2 separate regions of the Homo sapiens genome follow, and region 1 is linked to region 2. The links are contacts of gene promoters, found by promoter capture Hi-C in blood cells and fetal thymus (Javierre and others, 2016). All regions are on one chromosome and are shown on one strand. Each heading gives the region's core, a stretch centred on a gene start or on the middle of the fragment in contact. The rest is flanking DNA. Distances are from core to core; before and after follow the strand shown. Region 1 overlaps GYS1 (glycogen synthase 1). Region 2 holds the start of PLEKHA4 (pleckstrin homology domain containing A4).

The links. Contacts are between HindIII fragments. The CHiCAGO score rates a contact against its expected background, and 5 or more counts as called.
Region 1: a fragment that was not itself captured here is called in contact with the fragment with the promoter of PLEKHA4 in region 2 in 4 of 17 cell types (erythroblasts, M1 macrophages, monocytes and 1 more); the score reaches 6.7 in erythroblasts.

What each region holds. Positions count from the first base shown.
Region 1 is chr19:48,979,570-48,986,267 of GRCh38, forward strand. It overlaps GYS1 (glycogen synthase 1), which reads right to left. Exons shown (of 16, transcript NM_002103.5): 4 at 6,281-6,466; 5 at 5,892-6,036; 6 at 3,151-3,268; 7 at 2,686-2,806; 8 at 1,961-2,067. Among named protein-coding and RNA genes, the nearest start is that of GYS1, 10 kb to the right of the region's middle. The HindIII fragment of the contact is 2,950 bases long and covers 3,965-6,698 here.
Region 2 is chr19:48,863,556-48,870,673 of GRCh38, forward strand. It overlaps PLEKHA4 (pleckstrin homology domain containing A4), which reads right to left and starts at 5,062. Exons shown (of 20, transcript NM_020904.3): 1 at 4,528-5,062; 2 at 3,982-4,071; 3 at 1,948-2,055. The coding sequence starts at 4,065. The HindIII fragment of the contact is 18,917 bases long and covers 3,531-7,118 here.

The DNA of each region.
Region 1 (6,698 bases), core at 4,190-6,689, 120 kb after region 2:
CAAGTGATCTGCCCTCCTCAGCCTCCCAAAGTGCTGGGATTACAGGTGTGAGCCACCGCGCCCAGCCTCTTTCTTTCTTTTTTTTTTTTTTTTTTTTGAGACCGAGTCTCACTGTCACCCATGCTGGAGTGCATTGGCGCGATCTTGGCTCACTGCAATCTCTGCCTCCCGGGTTCGAGCGATTCTCCTGCTTAGCCTCTCGAGTAGCTAGGACTACAGATGTGTGTCACCACGCCCTGCTGATTTTTTTTATTTTTAGGAAAGACGGGGTTTCACCATGTTGGTCAAGCTGGTCTCAAACTCCCGACCTCAGGTGATCCACCCGCCTCGGCCTCCCAAAGTGCCGGGATTACAGGTGTGAGCCACCACGCCCGACTTCTTTTTTATTTTTTTGAGACAGAGTCTCACTCTGTTGCCTAGGCTGGAGTGCAGTGGCGCAATCATGCCTCACTACAGCCTCAACCTCCAGGGCCAAAATGATCCTCCTGCCTCCTGTAGCTGGCACTACAGGTGCCCTCCATCTTGCCTCACTTTCTACCCCTTCTCTATGAGACATGTCACTCCAGCCCCATGGGACTCCCCACCGCGTCTCAATCATGCCTCGGGGCCTTCGAGTTTGCTGTTCCTCAGATACCCACAGGGCTTGCTCCCTCGTCACCTTTCCTCGTCTCTGCCCAATAACACTTTCTCAGTGTGGCCTGTCCTGACAACCCCGTCTCATATTCCAGTTCTGCTTTATTTTTGCCCAAAAGTAAATTCCGTCTACAGGATTTTCTAGAATACAAGCTCCATGAGGAAAGGGATCTTATCTTTCTGGTTCACAGCTGTATTCCCAGGACCTGGAATACATGAGGAGGGCAGGTCACTTGAGGTCAGGAGTTCAAGACCAGCCTGGTCAACGTGGTGAAATCCCATCGGTGCTAAAAATATAAAAATTAGCTAGCACATAGTAGATGCTCAGTGAGTATCTCTGCTAATGAATGAACGGTTTTACAGATGAAGAAACTGAGCTTTGCTGGGAGGCGGAGGTTACAGTGAGCTGAGATTACGCCACTGCACTCCAGCCTGGGCAACAGTGAGACTCTGTTTCAAAAAAAAAAAAAAATCAGAGAAAAGAAAAAGAAACTAAGCCAGGCGCAGTGGCTCACCCCTGTAATCCCAGCACTTTGGGATGCCAAGGCGGCTGGATCACCTGAGGTCAGGTGTTCAAGATCAGCCTGGCCAACATGGTGAAACCCCATCTCTACTAAAAATACAAAAAAAGGCTAGGTGTGGTGGCTCACGCCTGGAATCCCAGCACTTTGGGAGGCTGAGGCAGGCGGAACACCTGAGGTCAGGAGTTCAAGACCAGCCTGGCCAATATAGTGAAAACCTGTCTCTAATAAAAATAAAAAGTTAGCCAGGTGTGGTGGCACACCCCTGTAGTCCCAGCTACTCAGAGGCTGAGGCAGGAAAATCGCTTGAACCCAGGAGGCAGAGGTTGCAGTGAGCCGAGATCATGCCATTGCACTCCAGCTTGGGCGACAGAGCAAAACTCCATCTCAAAATAAAAAAAAAAAAGAGGGCCGGGTGCGGTGGCTCATGCCTGTAATTCCAGCACTTTGGGAGGCTGAGGCGGGCAGATCACGAGATCAGGAGTTTGAGACTAGTCTGGCCAATGTGGTGAAACCCCATCTCTACTGAAAATACAAAAATTAGCCAGGCATGGTGGTGTGCACCTGTAGTCCCAGCTACTCGAGAGGCTGAGGCAGATGACTTGCTTGAACCCAGGAGGTGGAGGTTGCAGTGAGCCAAGATCGCACCACTACACTCCAGCCTGGGCGACAGAGTGAGACTGTCTCAAAAACAAACAAACAAACAAACAAACAAAACAAAAAACTGAGACTCTAGGAGAAACACAGGACCCAAAGCATGCATCTGGGAGTGGGCTGCGCCAGGGGCCGGAGCGAGGGCTGCTAACCAAAGCTGTTTGCGCACAGCTTGGCCTTTGAGGGTTTCCACGTTGAAATTGTTGGTCCGCGCTGGCATGATGAAGAAGGCAACCACTGTCTGCTCGCTGCCGTTCACCTGCGCAGAAAGAAAGGAGGGGGAGGCCAGGATCATGTGGGGGAAGCCTGGAACCAGCCAGCCTTTCTGTCAAGACCACTGGGATCCTGCCATACCCATTCCTGTCAAGGAGAATTATAGGACAGTCCCCACCTGGACTCTGACCTTCTTTCTGGGTCTCTATACTCCCCTCACGGCCCCCCACCATACTCAGGGGCTTTCCTACCCCCATCTTCCTGGCTTCTTGGGTTTCTGTTCTGTAATTTTTTGTTTTGTTTTGTTTTGTTTTGTTTTTGAGACAGCGTCTTTTTCTGTCGCCCAGGCTGGAGTGCAGTGATATGATCTTGGCTCACTGCAACCTCCACCTCCCGGGCTCGCGTGATCCTCCCCGTTCACCCTCCCGAGTAGCTGGGACTACACGTGTGAGCCACCATGCCTGGCTAATTTTTGTATTTTTTGTAGAGATGGGGTTTCACCATGTTGCCCAGGCTGGTCTCCATCTCCTGGGCTCAAGTGATCCTCCCGCCTTGGCCTCCAAAAGTGTTGGGATTACAGGTGTGAGCCACTGTGCCTGGCTGTTCTCCCTAGTTATAAACTGCTTTGCTTGCCCTCCCTGTCCCCTCATAGCCCAGGCCTCACTCTGAGCAGATAGTTGAGCCGAGCCAATGCCTCCAGGAAGACGTCAGCACCCTTGTTGGAGAACTCATAGCGGCCGGCGATAAAGAAGTATAAGGTCTTGTCCAAGTTGAAGTCCAGATGCCTAAAGAACCCACAAGGCACGGTAAAGCCCAAAGCCCTCACCCGCTAGCCCTGGCCTCAAAACTACAAATCCCAGAAGCTATGGGTGGGGGGGCAGAGGATGTCTTAGGTAATACAGAGGCATCACGGGGCCTCCTGGGAGTTGTAGTTCTTCTCTTTAGATGGAGATTTCCTTTAATCCTGAGCCCATTGTTCCAGCGCTCAAGAATTAAGGAGGCCGAATACCCAGGTGCCCCCTCCCTCAGACCCAGGAGTCTGGGCCCCCAGCTGCCCCCTCCCCCAGACCTAGATGGTTAGGCTCCCAACGCCCTCCTCTCTTAAGACCTAGGTATATGCCCCACGTACCCATAAAAATGGCCCCGCACAAACTCCTGGATTCGAGCCTTGCTCTGAGCATGGAGGTTCTGGAACTCATGCATGGCAGAAAACTTCTTCACATTCAGCCCATTGGGGGTCACAATATCTGGGATTGGGGGTGAGGGTCCCATGTTTTATTTGTTCATTCAGATCAATGTTGTGGTTGAATGAATAAATGAAGAAAACACCCTTTGCCTTTTGCAATTTTTTTGTTTCAAGAGCGTTCCTATGAGGTCCCCCCTCCCACCTTTTTTGTTTGTTTGTTTGTTTTTGGAGACAGGGTTTCTCTCTGTCGCTCAGGCTGGAGAGCAGTGGCACAATCACAGCTCATTGCATCCCTGACCTCCTGGGCTCAAGCAATCCTCCCTCCTCAGCCTCCCGAGTAGCTGGCACTACAGGCGTGCACTACCACACCCGGCTAATTTATTTATTTTACTTTTGTAGTGATGGGGTCTTGTCATGTTACCCAAGCTGATCTCAAACTCCTGGCTTCAAGCAGTCTTCCTGCCCTGGCCTCCTAAAGTGCTGGGATTACAGGTGTGAGCCACCATGCCTGGCCAGTTCCCTTGGTGACACACCTACCCTGACTCCAAGATGCCTTCTTGCCTAATATTACTTGCTTAGGTTCACAAGCACAAGTATAAGTCTCCTCAGCTACTGCAAATGGCTAACAGGGATCTGATCCACACTGGTGATTCTGGGAAAGTTGTACTTCTTTTGTTTCCTCTTAGCCCACCCTGAGATGGAAATGATTAAACATCCCCAAAGTCCTGCTTCTCCTAGGATATATCCTCTACTTCCAAGCTTCTTACAGGGACCCAATCATTTCTTCTCCTCATAGAAATTAAAGTATATCAACGAAAAACTACAACCCCCATCAGCGCCTAGGGCAAAGTTCTGGAACATATAGAGCTAACCAGTCAAAGGCCTTCTGGGAGTTGTAGTTCTCACCTTATACTCACTGAGAACGGATACTAAGGGCTGGGAAGAATGCCCAGTTCTGACCTAACCTTTCTCAAAAGCAAAGTCCACTGATCTTCCATTCCCTTTCATAAGACCAATCTACATTAGCCAATTACAGAATTTTATCATATCTGAAATTAATATGAAAGAAATTATACCTCCCATTAGCCTCCAGAGTATATAGTCAGAGAGCCTCAAATACAGGTCACCACCCCCACAGCCTTCTGGGAGCTGTAGTTCTCTATTCTTTAGGTAAAAAAATGGTAACTGATGGTCCCCAGCTTAGGACTTAGGATGGTCCAAGTTATGATTTTTCTTTTCGAGACAGAGTTTCGCTCTTGTTGCCCAGGCTGGAGTGCAATGGCACAATCTTGGCTCACGACAACCTCTGCCTCCTGGGTTCAAGAGATTCTCCTGCCTCAGCCTCCCGAGTAGCTGGGTGGCTGGGATTACAGGCGCCTGCCACCATGCCCACCTAATTTTTGTATTTTTGGCAGAGAGGGGGTCTCACAATGTTGGCCAGGCTGGTCTTGAGCACATGACCTCAGGTGATCTGCCCACCTCAGCCTTCCAAAGTGCTGGGATTACAGGTGTAAGCCACCGTGCCCAGCCAAGTTATGATTTTTCAACCTTATGATGGTGTGAAAGTTACATACATCCACATGAGTCCAATTTTGGATTTTGATGAGATATTCAACACTTTTTTTTTTTAATTTTTTGAGATGGAGTCTCGCTCTGTTGTCCAGGCTGGAGTGCAGTGGTGTGATCTCGGCCCACTGCAACCTCCGCCTCCTGGGTTCAAGTGATTCTCCTGCCTCAGCCTCCCGAGTAGCTGGGATTACAGGCACCCACCACCACGCCCGGCTAATTTTTGTATTTTTAGTAGAGATGGAGTTTCGCCATGTTGGCCAGGCTGGTCTCGATCTCCTGACCTCGTGATCTGCCCGCCTTGGCCTCCCAAAGTGTTGGGATTACAGGTGTGAGCCACTGCGCCCAGCCTATTCAACACTTTATTATAAAATAGGTTTGTATTAAAATTAGCCAGGCGTGGTGGCAGGCGCGTATAGTCCCAGCTACTTGGGAGGCTGAGGCAGGAGAATGGCATGAACCTGGGAGGCGGAGCTTACAGTGAGCCAAGATAGCGCCACTGCACTCCAGCCTGGGCGACAGAGCGAGACTCCGTCTCAAAAATAAATAAATAAATAAAAATAAAATAAAACAGATTTGTATTGGATGATTTTGCCCAGTCGTAGGCTAACATAAAGTGTTCTGGGCACATTTAAGGTATACTAGCCTAAGCTATGATGTTCAGTAGGTTAGGTGTATTAAATGCATTTTTTTATTTTTTGAGACAGGGTCTCACTGTGTCACCCAGGCTGTGACAGGGTCTCTCCAGGCCACCCAAATCATGCAATGGCACGATCACAGCTCACTGCACCCTTGACCTCCTAGGCTCGAGCAATCCTCCCACCTCAGCCTCCTGAGTAGCTAGGGATACAGGCACACACCATGTCTGGCGAATATTTTAGACAGGGATTCGCCATGTTGCCCAGGCTGGTCTCAAATTCCCGGGCTCAAGTGGTTCTCCTGCCTTGGCCTCTCAAAGTGCTGAGATTACAGGTGTGAGCCACCATGCCCAGCCGAAATACGTTTTCGGTTTATGCTATTTCAACTTACAGTGGGCTTCTTGGGCTGAGGAGCAACTGGCTTTGGCATAGACAGCTGCCTACCTCATTCACGTCTGGGGACTTCAGCCCAGCCCCTACCTGGTTTCCTCTTGAGCAAGTGCTGTGCCTCGATGGCGGTGATCTGGGACACAGTAGTGAAGACGTGAGCGCAGTGGGCTGCCGCCCTTTCCATGCAGTATCGGTGGTAGATCTGCCTCTCCCCTGCTTCCTTGTCCACGTTGAACTGGGTGGGAGGGGACAGCAGTCCGGTTAGAAGGATTGGGGAGAAGACTCTGGAGGTCCAGACACTGGGGTCCCAAGAGAAATTGGTGCTGGGGGCTGGATTCCTGGGTCTGAGGTAGGAGGGGTCTGGGGACTTGGACTCCTGGATCCTGGGAGAAGAGGGGGTGCCATCCCCTTGGGCCCCCCAGAGCTTTGGGTTTTCCTGGCATACTCGCAGTCCCCCATCTGCCACGGTCCCAGCTCACGTTCTCCAGGTTGTTGTAGAAGTCCACGGCACCGGCACACAGGTAGCGCCCCAGCAGCGTGGCATGGGTGGTGAAGATGGTTGCTACAGGCAGTCGCCGGGCACGACACAGGCAGAGTCCAACGCCTGCCAACCACTCATGGAAGTGAGCAACCACATGTGGCTTCTCCTCACTCTGTGCCAGGAACTGTGGGCAACAGGGACAGGGCCACTGTCTCCACGAGTGTTGGGAAAAGAATCGGCAATCCCCAGTAGGGACAAGGACTCGGGGAGAGGTCAATCTGTCACCACTACTGCACAGAGTGGGCAGCGGCCCACTGCAGCAATCCCAACCGGACAGGGACCTGTAAATCCCTGAGGCAGCCCAGGCTGGTCTTGAACTCCTGGGCTCAAGTGACTGCCTCCTCAGGGGTTGACAG
Region 2 (7,118 bases), core at 3,812-6,311:
AAGTAGCTGGGACTGCAGGCGACCACCACCACGCCCGGCTAATTTTTTTTTTTTTGTATTTTTTAGTAGAGATGGGGGTTCACCGTGTTAGCCAGGATGGTCTCGATCTCCTGACCTCATGATCCGCCCACCTTGGCCTCCCAAAGTGCTGAGATTACAGGAGTGAGCCACCACGCCCAGCCTAATTTTTGTATTTTTAGTAGAGATGGGGTTTCACCATATTGGCCAGGCTTGTCTCGAACTCTTGACCTTGTGATCCACCTGCCTCGACCTCCCGAAGTGCTGGGATTACAGGCGTCAGCCATCGTGCCCAGCCCATGTACTGCTTTGCAGAGAGTTTTGAGTTTGAAGGTGCATAAGAATCACCAGGAAGGTGTGTTAAAACACAGATTCTGGGGCCCCATCCCCAGAGTTCCTGATTTGGCAAATCTATGATGGTACCTCATCATTTGCCTTTCTAGCAAGTCCCCAGATGACGCTGATGCTGCTGGTCTGGGACCACACTTTGAGAACCACTGCTCTGCTGCTCCTCCTGGCTTCTTCCCCTGGCCTCACTTGACACCAAGGTTTTGCCTGCTGCAGACCTTTTCCTTTTGGATGCGATCTGCCTCCAGGTCTTTTTTTTTTTTTTGACATGGAGTCTCACTCCATCATCCAGGCTGGAGTGCAATGGCGCAACCTCGGCTCACTGCAACCTCCACCTCCCAGATTCAAATTTTCCTTGTCTCAGCCTCCCAAGTAGTTGGGATTACAGGCACCCCCAAGCTGGCCCGGCTAATTTTTGTATTTTTTAGTAGAGCCAGGGTTTCGCCATGTTGACCAGGCTGGTCTTGAACTCCTGACCTCAGGTGATCCGCCCGCCTCAGCCTCCCAAAGCGTTTGAATTACCGGCATGACCCACTATGCTCAGCCAGCTCAAATGTCACCTCAGAGATAATTTTCCCTGACCAAATGTCAAATTGAAGTTCTCCTCTCTCAGCCACGTTCAAGCACATCATATTCCGTTTTTTTGTTTTTGTTTTTGAGACAGGGTCTCACTCTGTCACCCAGGCTGGTGTGCAGTGACATGAACACAGTTCACTGCAGCCTCAGCCTCCTGGGCTTCAGCAATCCTCCTGCCTTAGCCTCCCGAGTAGCTGGGACTATAGGCGCACACCACCACGCTCAGCTAGGTTTTGTGTGTGTGTGTATTTGTTGTTGAGATGAGGTTTCTTCATGTTGCCCAGGCTGGTCTAGAATTCCTAAGCTCAAGCGATCTTCCCGTCTTGGCCTCCCAAAATGCTGGGGTTACACCACTGAACCTGGACCCTATGTTACTTCTTCATAGCCCATCCTGCGATCTGAAATGACCAAGTCCATTTATTTATTTACTAATTTATTATCCACCCATGCTCCACCCAATCTGGAATGTAATATAAATACTTTTGTGTTATTTGCATGGTGTGTGCCCTGGGATTGGGAACACTGTAAGTGTTCAAGAAGTAGTCAAGAAAGAATGAATGAATGGGCCAGGCACGGTGGCTCACGCCTGTAATCCCAGCATTTTAGGGAGCCGAGGCGGGTGGATCACTTGAGGTCGGGAGTTTCAGACCGCCCTGGCCAACATGATAAAACCCCATCTCTACTAAAAATACAAATATTAGCTAGGCATGATGGTGCATGCCTGTAAGCCCAGCTACTCGGGAGGCTGAGGCACGAGAATTGCTTGAACTGGAGGCCAGAGGTTGCATTGAGCCGAGATCATACCACTGCCCTCCAGCCTGGGCGACAGAAAGAGACTCTGTCTTAAAAATAAATAAATAAACAAACAAACAAACAATGACGGACTAAGGGGAGGGGCAGTGATAGCAAGAAAAAGAAAGCCTATTTGGGGACTTGCAAGGAGAGAGACAGAGGACAGCCGGGGCACAGACTTCAGTGTCCTTTTCCTTCTCCTACTGACCCCACCTGCTTATGAAGCCAGCCTCGGATGTGCACGGGAAGGTTGGGATCCCTCCTGAGCGCATTGCCTCTCTTCCCAAAGGCGTGGATCTTGTTTACTGCCCGGGTGGGCTTCTGAGGAGAGAAGGGGACAGAAGTGAACAGGGAGAGCCTAGGATGGTCCTGGGAGGGGGTGAGGGTGGACACAGGCAACCGTAGGCTCTCGCTTGGCTGCCCTGAGAAATGGGTCAAGGACCAGCCGGGCGCAGTGGCTCACACCTGTAATCCCAGCACTTTCGGAGGCTGAGACGGGTGGATCACGAGGTCAGGAGATCGAGACCATCCTGGCTAACACGGTGAAACCCCGTCTCTACTAAAAATACAAAAAATTAGCCGGGCGTGGTGGCGGGCGCCTGTAGTCCCAGCTACTCGGGAGGCTGAGGCAGGAGAATGGCGAGAACCCGGGAGGAGGAGCTTGCAGTGAGCCGAGATCGCACCACTGCACTCCAGCCCGGGAGACAGAGTGAGACTCCGTCTCAAAGAAAAAAAAAAAAAGAAAGAAAGAAAAGGGTCAAGGTGGGGGCTGAAGTTGGAGATCAGAATTGGGAGGTGTTCTTATTGCAGAGTTAAGAGACTCTTTTTTTTTTGACAGGCTCTTTGGAGTGCAGTAGCCTAAACACTGCAGCCTTTACCTCCTGGACTCAGGTGATCCTCCAGCCTCAGCCTCCCATGTAGCTGGGACCACAGGCATGTCCCACCATGCCCAGCTAATTTTTTTACTTTTTGTAGGGGACGGGGGTCTCACTTTGTTGCCCAGGCTGGGAGAGACTCTTTTTTTCTTTTTCTTTTGAGACAGAGTCTCGCTCTGTCCCCCAGGCTGGAGCACACTGGCACCATCTTGGCTCACTGCAACCCCTGCCTCTCGGGTTCAAGTGATTCTCCTGCCTCAGCCTCCTGAGTAGCTGAGATTGCAGGCACGTGCCACCACGCCTGGCTAATTTTTGTATTTTTAGCAGAGACGCGGTTTCGCCATGTCAGTCAGGCTGCTCTTGAACTCCTGACCTCAGGTGATCCACCCGCCTCAGCCTCTTAAAGTGCTGGGATTATAGGCGTGAGCCACTGCGCCGGGCCGAGACTCTTTTTTTGATGGGCAGAGGGAGGTGTTCAGAGGCAAGGAAGAGGCTGTAGGGAAGCAATTTGGGGATCAAGCATCCACTGCCAAGAAGCAGATGCCCTTGGCCACCAGAGCCAGAGCTGTAGTAGGTCCTTTGGGATCTGAACTGGGACTATGGGCTGGGAGGGCCCCATAATCAGGGGGAACTCTCACGCTGAGTCTCCAGTGAATCAAAGGATGCCCTGGTGCCCTGCGGTCACACCCCTTAGCAACCAAGTACAAGGAGAGGAAGCCTCAAATCCCTCCATCCTGCCCGGATGGAGCCTCATCTCCTGATGCCCACAGATATCTCAGGCATCCTTAGCCAGGTCCCGACAATATGCCCTTCCTTGGAAGCGGTGGTACTGACCAAGGCTGAGATCAGATCTCTGGGCTCTGAACTTGAGAAACAATATGTGTGGAACGGCAGGAGGAAAAAGAAATGAGTGTCTCCCTAAGCTTTTGGCTGGGATGCCGATTTGGGATGCAAGTATCTGGAGGCCCCTTGGGTCTTATTGTCAGAGAAGGGTCTCTCCTTATAGGATTTCATTAGTGGGTAGATTGGATGGCGAGAGATAGGACAGCAAGTTCTGGCACTAATCAAGAGCAGCCACTACTTCTCAGAACTCGAGGGGCCTCATGGCTGGGGAGCGGCTTTATCTTAGCAACCAGGGTCAAGGGAGGTTGTTACTCTGGTTTAGAATTAGGAAAATACAAAGGGTGGGGACAGAGCTGGGAGTGCCTCTGAATTCCTAGCTGCGGTGTGTAGGCAATTTGGGACCTTACTATGTCTGGCAGACCCCGTTGCTAAGGATCTTTGTCCTTAACAACCAGAGTCCTTGGGGAAACAGAAGGATGGGCGGCCCAGAGCCCCACCTTCCTCCCCATCCCCGCCAGGAAGCTCAAACCTTGGGGCTCAGGCTGCTGAGCGAGGAGATGGTGGAGGCGCTGCTGGCCAGGCTCAGGCTGCTGCGAGGTCGGCTCCCCTCCATCAAGGGCTGGGGGAGAGAAAGAAAGGGGCTGTGTCTCTGCAGTGACGGGTGTGAGACAGAGATGGGGTCAGGGGCTTGGAGGTCGGAGGAGGCTGCAGAGAAAGAGCCTGTTGTTTCGGGACTTGGGGGGCTGGGGGAGGCCATGGCCCGTGACCACATACCAAGAGTGGTGCCAAGAGAGGTAGGCGGCCCTGGCAGCTGCGGGAGGGGGCAGCTGTCTGCAGCCCAGGCCAGAGAATAGGGGCTTCTTTATTCCTGCCCACTGCACTCAGGCCAGGAATTTGACCCTCTCTGTGCTTAGGGACTCCCCATTCCCTGCCTCCTTCCGGCTGCCCCAGGCTACCTGTCTCCCGCCCTCCCACATGCACCCCCAAACCACCCCTGCCAACTCCCCAAGCCAAGCCCTGCGGCACCAGGAATGTGAACCCAGAGAGCCCCTCCCAGCCCAGCCAGGGAACTTACCCAGCTCTGGGGTCCCAGTGACGGGGGGGCAAGAGGACGGTGTGGGTGCTGCGGCACCTAGGCAGTCTCCCGCCTCCTTTGTCTCTTAGCTGCTGTCTCTCATAGTTCTCAATCTCTCTCCTCACCTGCTCACTCACACTTTTTGTCTCTTTGTCTCCTGTCTCTTACGGTCTCTCTCTCTCTCTCTTCCTTTTACACTACCTCTCTCCCCACTCTCACTTTCTGTGTCTCCCTCTGATCTCTGTCTCTTCCAGTCTCTCTCTCACTCATTCTCTCCCTCTCTCTCTCTCTCCAATCTTTCTGTTTCTGTCCAAATCTTTTATTGTCAGACTCACAGGGTCTCTTCCTTAAGTCTCTGTCTCATTCTCTCTCTCTCTCTCTCTCTGTCTCTCAGTCATCCCCTGTGTCCTCTCTCCTTCACACTCAGTCTCTTCCTCTTTCTCTCTGGCTCTGCCGTTTCCTCCCTTTTCTCTTTCCGATTTCCCTTCTCACTTTCTCCCTTCCTCCCTCTCCCAGTTTCTCTTTCCTCTCTGCTGGTCTTTCCCTGCCTCTGCCAGCCGCCCACGCTGCTGTTCTCCCCTCCCAATCCCGGCTGTCCCCGCCCCTTCTGGCCTCCCCACTACAGCCTGACCTCTGGCTCAGCTGCCCCCATAGCTGAAGGGAGGGGCTTGGGCCCCCCAATTCCCAGGTCCCCTAAGGACCAAGGTTGGGACTTCTCAGTGTTTGGAGAGTTGGACTTGAGGCCTGCACTCCAGGGCCCCCGTGGGTTTGCTGCTGTGGTTGGGGGCCTGAGCCACTGGTGTCCTAAACGGAGGAGGCTTGTGTCCTGCAAGGGGTGGGGACTCAAATTTCCAAAGCCCTGGAGGGAATGGGTTAGGGATCCAGACTCCTGGGTGCCCGAGAAGGTCTGAGCTAGGATCAGGACTCCTGAGTCGTGAAAGAGCTGGGGGTCTGGAAACATGGCTGTGCTTGGAAGGGGCCAGGGACGGTTTGTCCAGGTCCCCTAGGGAGAAAAGGGGATGGTCCCAGTAGGGCAGGGTGAAATGGAGAGTTCCAAACCTCCACCTCAGATCCAGGTGAGAATTCTCTTCTAGACTGAGGACAACTCCCTCAGGAGAGAGACATGATTCCTTGGTATATTTTGAGGAACAAGATTATGCATCCGTAGGCAGGGGAGGAGAGCGGGGGGCTGGAACTGTCACCCAGGGCCTGGAACTTGTAGCAGAAGCGCCCCCACCCGCACAAAGAGTGCCACCCAGGCAGAATCGCGGCTTGTGGGGGCAGAGCTACTGCCTAAGTCTGAAGCAGATGACACCCAGGAGTGGAGCCTTGTGCCTGTGACCGGGAAGGAATCTGAGCTTTCGGTTTAACTGCCATTCACCATGCACCTGTTGAGCACCTACTGTGTGCAGGCACTGTCTGTTGCAGCCACTGAGAAGAAAGCAGTGAGCCCTGGCTGGGTGCAATGGCTCACGCCTGTAATCCCAGCACTTTGGGAGGCCAAGGCAGGAGGATCGCTTGAGACCAGGAGTTCAACACCAGCCTGGGCATCATAGCGAGACCTTGTCTCTATTTAGAAAATGAATTTCTTTTTTTTTTTTTTTTGAGGCGGTGTTTTGCTCTGTCGCCAGGCTGGAGTGCAGTGGCGTGATCTCGGCTCACTGCAACCTCCGCCTCCCGGGTTCAAGCGATTCTCCTGACTCAGCCTCCTGAGTAGCTGGAACTACAGGCACATGCCACTGCACCCGGCCTAAATTAATTATTATTATTATTTTTTTGAGACGGAGTCTCGCTCTGTCGCCCAGGCTGGAGTACAGTGGCACGATCTCAGCTCACTGCAAGCTCTGCCTCCCAGGTTCACGCCATTCTCCTGCCTCAGCCTCCCGAGTAGCTGGGACTACAGGTGCCCACCACCACGCCCGGCTAATTTATTTTGTATTTTTAGTGGAGGCGGGGTTTCACCGTGTTAGCCAGGATGGTCTTGATCTCCTGACCTCATGATCCACCTGCCTCAGCGTCCCAAAGTGCTAGGATTACAGGCGTGAGCCACCGCGCTCAGCCTAATTACTTTTTTTTGAAAAGCATTGAGCCCAGCAAAGTGCCTGATCTCATAGTGCTTACATCCTCATTCTCATTTGCAAGGAATCTGGACCCTGCTGTGACTATCTTGGTCAAGTGGCTTCATTTCCAAGCCTGTTTCCCCATCTGTGAAATGGGAACAATGACACCCTCGCACTCGGGGAGGAAACCAACCACATGTGAAAATAGGAGACTCTAGCCAGGCGTGGTGGCAAGCTCCTGTACTCCCAACTACTCAGGAGGCTGAGGCAGGAGAATTGCTTGAACCCGGGAGGCGGAGGTTGCAGTGAGCCAAGATCATGCCATTGCACTCCAGCCTGGGTGACAGAGTGAGACACCGTCTCAAAAAAAAAAAAAAAAAAAGAAAGAAAAAGAAAAAAGAAAGAAAAGAAAAAAAAAAGAAAATGGGAGACTCTAGGCTGGGGCCTGTGGGCTAAATTGGGGTAGGAGGCCAGGCACAGTGGATCACAACTGTAATTCCAGCACTTTGGGAAGCCAAGGCGGGCAGATCA